Linked DNA regions of Homo sapiens: region 1 is linked to region 2. The links are contacts of gene promoters, found by promoter capture Hi-C in blood cells and fetal thymus (Javierre and others, 2016). All regions are on one chromosome and are shown on one strand. The core of a region is centred on a gene start or on the middle of the fragment in contact, and the rest is flanking DNA. Distances in the headings are between cores, read along the strand shown.

Region 1 (3,186 bases), core at 110-2,609, 1.6 Mb after region 2:
TGAAAGAGCCAAAGGGGTTAAAACCTGCAAAATGTGGGGTGGGAGCACGTGCATCCCAGCAGGAGAGATTAGCAGTCCTGGAGGGGGGGGATCTGGTGGGGGAGGGATAAGGCAAGTGGAGTTGTGAAGATGCTGAGGTTTTAGACTTAAGACCTTAAACAAGTCAGATGGAGATGGGGTCTCCATTTGTGTCAAGTAGGGCAACCAGGGCTGGTGACATAGGACACAGTGCAGGCAGCTTCACTCTGGGGACTTTGGCTTCATGGCAGTGGCTCAGGAAAGACTCTGGACCCCAGGAGGTCACAGCCCCAGGAGCTGGCTGGGATCGTGGAGACTGTCTGATGTGAGCACACAATGGAGGAATGTGCCCCCCGGAGCCCACATGCACTCATTTCTCTTCTCTACAAGTCTTTGGCTGCTGGAAGAACCCAGGTGCAGAGAGTTGGCCAACCCTTAACCTCTTGGGCTCAAGCAATCCTCCCACCTCAGCCTTGTGAATAGCTGGGAATACAGGCACGTGTCACCACACCAAGCTATTTTTTTAACATTTTTTTATAGAGATGAGGGGTCTCACTATGTTGTCCAGGCTTGTCTCGAACTCCTGGGCTCAAGTGCTCTTTATACCTTAGCCTCCCAAAGTGCTGATTAGAGGCATAAGCCACCATGCTGGCCAACTCAGCTTTTCAAGTAGTTCCTCTTATCTTTTGTTATGTAACTGTTCACACCCTGTTCCTTTAGGGTTTTGTTAAAGGCCAACCATCTAACCCCAAGTCAGTGGTTCTCTCTGAACATTTAATCCCTAAAAACAACAACATCACATTCAACTCACAAAAGGCCCAACTGCATTATGGTAACCAGGGTTGAAATTCACCTCAGCAGACTTCCAAAACTCACATGGCTGGGATCTAAGTAGGCAAATGCCTGTATTATATGTCTCTGTGATGGTAAATGGGGCTAAGTCACCAGAGTCCAGGAGCCTCACACTTCTGCCAGGAGCCATGGAGCGACATGGCTGCTCTCCTCTCACCCTTCCCTTCAGGGGCCCCAACAGGCTTCCCAGGCCTCAGCGGATAGACGTGAACTTTCCAGCCCCTGGGCTGAGGTGTCTCAAGGGACTTCTTGAATTACAGACCCAGACACCAAGAAGCCTCCCCTTCTCCATTTGGGTGTGCTGTGGCAAAAAGAGAACAATTCCCTCCTTTCCACCTCCAAGCTTGTTTTTAGCTCTCTCTCTCTCCTAGCACCTAACTCATCAGCATACAGAGTAGTTTTGATAGAACCCCTATAAGGCTTTCTCTCCAAAGAGGGATTTTAATACCCTTCTCAGTGACATTTTATATGATAACAGTATGTAAGTTTGACAGGAAGCTGTTTTCCAAGAGTTAAAGTCCAAACAGTCCCACAGATCAGACTGATAATGGCTTTCCTGATCATTATTAAATTCCCTGTGATTAGAAAATGGGCCGGTGCTATTGATTTAAGCTCTTTGAGTTAAGCTAAGCTTTAGAGGGCTTTCACAAGGCACAAAAAGGGCATTTGAGACTGTATTTTACCTTCCCAATTAAAGTAGTTTTCAGAGTACAAACAGCAGACAGCCAGACATTAGGCAGGCGTTCCAGAAAGAAAGGTGGAAGCATTTGTCCAGAACATGGAACCAGAAGACAAGCCCCATCACAGCCAAGACAAGCCCCATCACAGCCAATGCTGCAAAGTGCAGACAGAGGTTGAGGCTCAAATTCCCTAAGAAAAAAGGCTTCCTACTCCCAACAGTGCCTGGGTCAATGACACTTTGAATTCAACCTCAAAGCATCTATAGGTGATAAGAATTTCCAGTCCTAGAATTTTGAGTTTCAAGGATTTCAATTTCAATTTCAAGGATTTTTTCATGTGGTCTTTCAATCATGGTCAAGCTGTCTATACAAATTTTGCATCAAGAAATTATCGCCAAATCTCCAAAGGCTAAAGATTCCAGATTACTTTTTCAGCTTAATAAGTGAGAAAAGAATGAAGGCAACGGTGTTTCTATTACAATCTAAAGCTCTAGAGAAAACAAGGATCCCTAGAGGAAAATCTTGAGCAATTGCAGGGTCTTAAGTGCTTTGTGTCTTTCTGAAGGAAAGACACTTGAGGTTTTTAGGTGCGCCTGCAGTGCCTATTTGTTGCCCAGACAATAAGCAGTTTGAGCGACTGTGCTCAGGCCCCTGAGCATTTCTTCTCTTGACTGCCTGTCTTCTAATCCGCCCCAACCCCAGGAGAGCTTTTCTGAAACCAGTTGCTTCCTCTCCAGCTGGGAGGTCTTGGTGCCCAATGTCTTTGATTCTGCCCACAAGGGGCTCAGCATCCAAGCTAGGAGCCTTGTCATACGCATCCTGTCACTGTTTTTTTTCTTTTTTCAAACCATGATCAAAAGTAAGAAACTTATTTTTAAACCACAACCCAGCCTGTGACAGGCATTTAAGACAAAAACGAAAGTTTCAGCAAATAATACTCATGCGTACTAGGGGCATTTTGATGTCACAGCCCGCAAAATTGATGTTATGGTTCCAACAGGTGTCAGCCTGCAAAATGAAAACTGCTCGGTGTTATCAAGGATCACAAACATTCCTTTAAAATGTATTTATTTAGCAATTACTTAGAGAGCACAGGGCATGTGCCTGTGTTAACTGTTGTATGGGGACAGGGAAGAATATGGAAGTCTCTCCCCTCAAGCAGCTCACAATTGACATGGAGAGGCATAACTGATATGTAGGAAGATGTAAATAGCAATGCCTAAGAGATTGGTGTTCAGATGGAGCATGGGTCTGTGCAGTAGAGATACCAGGAGGGAGAGGTGGGGAGGGGCCTGCACACTGAGGAGGTTGGGAAAGCTGCAAGGCAACTGTTATCATCCTTGGGGGAGCTGTAACTCCTGCACCTTACTATCCCTTGCAGGTACATGTGCATCACAGGCTTTCAATAATTGTGCATTGAATGGCTCTCTGGTTAGATCATATTAAGGTTGTGAAGGAATCCAATCGCCAATGCTTGTTGAGCAAACTAAAGTATGCCTGGGTCTGTGCTGGGAGTTTAACCTAGTTATCATATTTACTCCTCGTGACAAGCTAGTGTAGTAGTTGCTATTGTCCCATATTTAATGGTGAGGAAATTGACCCTGAGACATGTTCAATGGCTTACCCAAGGTCGCGC
Region 2 (2,785 bases), core at 183-2,682:
GGAGTTCCTCTAGCCCTTGGCCTTTTTGGTTACTCCAATGTGTGTGTGTAAGGGGGGACAGGTAAATGTGAGGGTTGGTTAAGAGAGGAGAGGGAGACATGGGGCCTCGGGGAAGTTTCTCCTGTGGGCTGGTTTCACTGCTGGCTCTCACACCCAGCAATACCAATAAAACTGATGACAGTAATTAAGACCATATAATCACCGTGTGTTTATTTATCCCCCAGAAGCCTCCTTTCCCTGGCCCCATGATTACCTATTCCATCCTTATGATAGCTGGTGGGGGTTAACTGTGGCTCCAATAAAAAGCAGTAACTGCCTGTGTTTCCACCCCACATGCCCGGACAGCTTTGCTCCCACCCTCTGCAAGGTGGGGGGACACTATTTTCAGAGGGAACAACAGAGGCAGTAAGCTGAAGATGTCAAAAAGAATGAAACCTCACAGGGCAAGTAGTAGAAGCAGCAACGTTTGCCTTCTTTTTTAGAGCCTTCCCCCTTCTTCCTGGCATCTGCCTCCCTCCCAGAGGAACTTATCCGGTTCCATGGCCCTCTGCAGGGCCACTCAGCCTGCAGCTGCTGATCTCTCAGAAGACTGATCAAGCCAAGCATGTAGCCACCAGCCAGCAATAAATACCACTGGGTGATACCAGGAAAGTTACTTTTCACCACTGAGCATCCTATTTCCTACATGGTTAAAAGAAGTTTGCAAAGACTAAGACCTTGCGTGCAAACGTGCATTACAAAATGGCAATGGTTGATACTACTATTAAGGGCCCAGGGTTATTTGTGTACTTGGCTCAGAGGAATAGGTGGAATTTCAAACTTCTGCTGAAGGAGTGTGGGAGCTGAGAGCTCTACCCAGAATGCCTCAAATCATCGCGGTCAGCCTGCCCCGGAGTCAGGGATCTGGAAAGGCATCCCAGAGAGAAGGGAACCCCTGAAACCTGGTGGGGCAAAAAGTCCCTCAGGTTCCCTCTCCCCCCACACCTCCCCCCTTTCCCTCCTGGACCCACTGGTGTGAGACCCGGACTTGCTGGCGCTCAGCCAAGCTTCCTTCCAGCTCCTGACTGAGCCTGCAGAGGAGATCCTTCCCTCTACCCCACCAACCGCATCTCATGCCTTTACCCGGTTCACAGAGGGGAAAATGAGGCGAGAGGGAAAGACACCGGGAAAAGCCAGTGAAGGGTCGCTTAAACTCTGGAGTCCAGATTTTCTTTGTGTGCCGACCCCCGCACTCCCCCTGCTTTTTTGTTACAGCTTCCCACACGCTAATCTTTCCGATTGGGAAGGTGGCTCCACTGTGGGCCCCACGCGCGAGTCCCGCGGCACATCGCCCCTTTAAGGGGCCGGCCTCTCGCCTCCCTGACCTCGCCCCGCCCCCTCCGGGGCTACACTGCGCCTGCGTGGCAAGCCGGAGCCCTGGGGTTGGGCAGCACTCGGTTCCGTGCAACTTTCAAGTGAGTTGCGAACTCCGCCCTGTAGGCCGGTGCTGGTGGCCCGGCGCGCTGGAACCGCGGCGACCCGCTCCAGCGCGGGACCAGCAGCAAGGGCCGAGCGCCAGGTTCTCCGCGGCAGAAAGGGCGGGTGGGAGCTGTAACTGCCCCGGCCGCGGGGCGCGCCCGCTCCCAAGTCGGCTTCCTCCCCGCCGGGGCCGCTTTGCCTCGGGTCTCCCCATTCTCCAGGTCCCCTGAACTGCACAGTCGGAGGCCGTGGGCGGCGGGCTCTGCCTCCGCCGAGGGACAGCCGGATCGCCCCTCTGCTTCCCGCAACTGCCCTGATCACCCCCCGTCCCAGCCCTTGAGTGAACGTCCTTCTGAGCGGCTTCCTGGGGTCCTCCCCACGTCCCAAAGGCCGGCAAGATGGTGTCCTGGATGATCTGTCGCCTGGTGGTGTGAGTATGGCCGCCCTCAGACCTCCTCTACCCCGGGGTGCCGTCCCGCCCCTGTGGTGGAAGCTGTGGACGTCTAGTGGGAGGAGGAACTTTCTGAGCTCCACCCTCCAGCACTCCATGCAAGGGTTAACGGACCTGTGGGCTTGCACGCGGTGTCTGGGGCACCGCAGGCTACCCGCCCCACCAAGCCTCGTTGGCTGAGAACGACCCCTGCCGCACGCCACACACACTGCAAACAGATGCGTGGAGCCGAGGGCCACAGGCCTACCTTGCTGCCCCTTGGCAAACACAAGGTGATATGGCACGTTGTGGGCGGAGAATCCAGGTGCCTGCTTGCCATCTGAGCAGTCACATGACTCACCATCCTATTCCTCACCTTTGAGTATGCCAACATCTGGCTCACATAGCCCTATCTGCAACCCAGCAGTGTCAGGTCTGGTGACCCTGGGCCTGATTGCATGCCCATGGGAGGGGACAGTCTGGTGTTCTCACCCACTTCGTGGAGTGGCTGTCCTCTCACTCCATCATGCACCCATGGGCCACCGGTGCAGGCCTGGGCAGGCTTGGGATGTTTGTAAACAGCAGGGTGGGGAGGTGGCCTCCAGGGCTCTGACTCAGGCACGGGTTGTACAAGCCAAGCGAGAAAAACAGGGCGGGTACTGCCACCTTGCACCCCAGTGGGGGGAAATGGCCACTTGGCAAGGTGGGAGTGGGGCATGGTGCCCCTCACACTCCCCATGGCTGCTCTTCCAGGCTGGTGTTTGGGATGCTGTGTCCAGCTTATGCTTCCTATAAGGCTGTGAAGACCAAGAACATTCGTGAATATGTGAGCGTGGGGGTTTGGGTGTGTTTAATAGGACTTGGTGAGGTGGGGAGGGTCTCAGTTGGCCTCTCCCT

Evidence for each region. Contacts are between HindIII fragments. The CHiCAGO score rates a contact against its expected background, and 5 or more counts as called.
Region 1: a contact is called between a fragment that was not itself captured here and the fragment with the promoter of REEP4 in region 2, in 5 of 17 cell types (naive CD4 T cells, naive CD8 T cells, non-activated CD4 T cells and 2 more). The highest score is 8.6, in naive CD4 T cells.

The regions. Positions count from the first base shown.
Region 1 is chr8:20,492,606-20,495,791 of GRCh38, reverse strand. No RefSeq gene overlaps it. Among named protein-coding and RNA genes, the nearest start is that of SNORD3F, 120 kb to the left of the region's middle. RefSeq lists an enhancer at 1,898-2,436. The HindIII fragment of the contact is 288 bases long and covers 1,216-1,503 here.
Region 2 is chr8:22,140,554-22,143,338 of GRCh38, reverse strand. REEP4 (receptor accessory protein 4) reads left to right here and starts at 1,432. Exons shown (of 8, transcript NM_025232.4): 1 at 1,432-1,888; 2 at 2,642-2,714. The coding sequence starts at 1,857. RefSeq lists silencers at 1,389-1,518, 1,529-1,678 and an enhancer at 2,443-2,785. The HindIII fragment of the contact is 1,867 bases long and covers 1,049-2,785 here.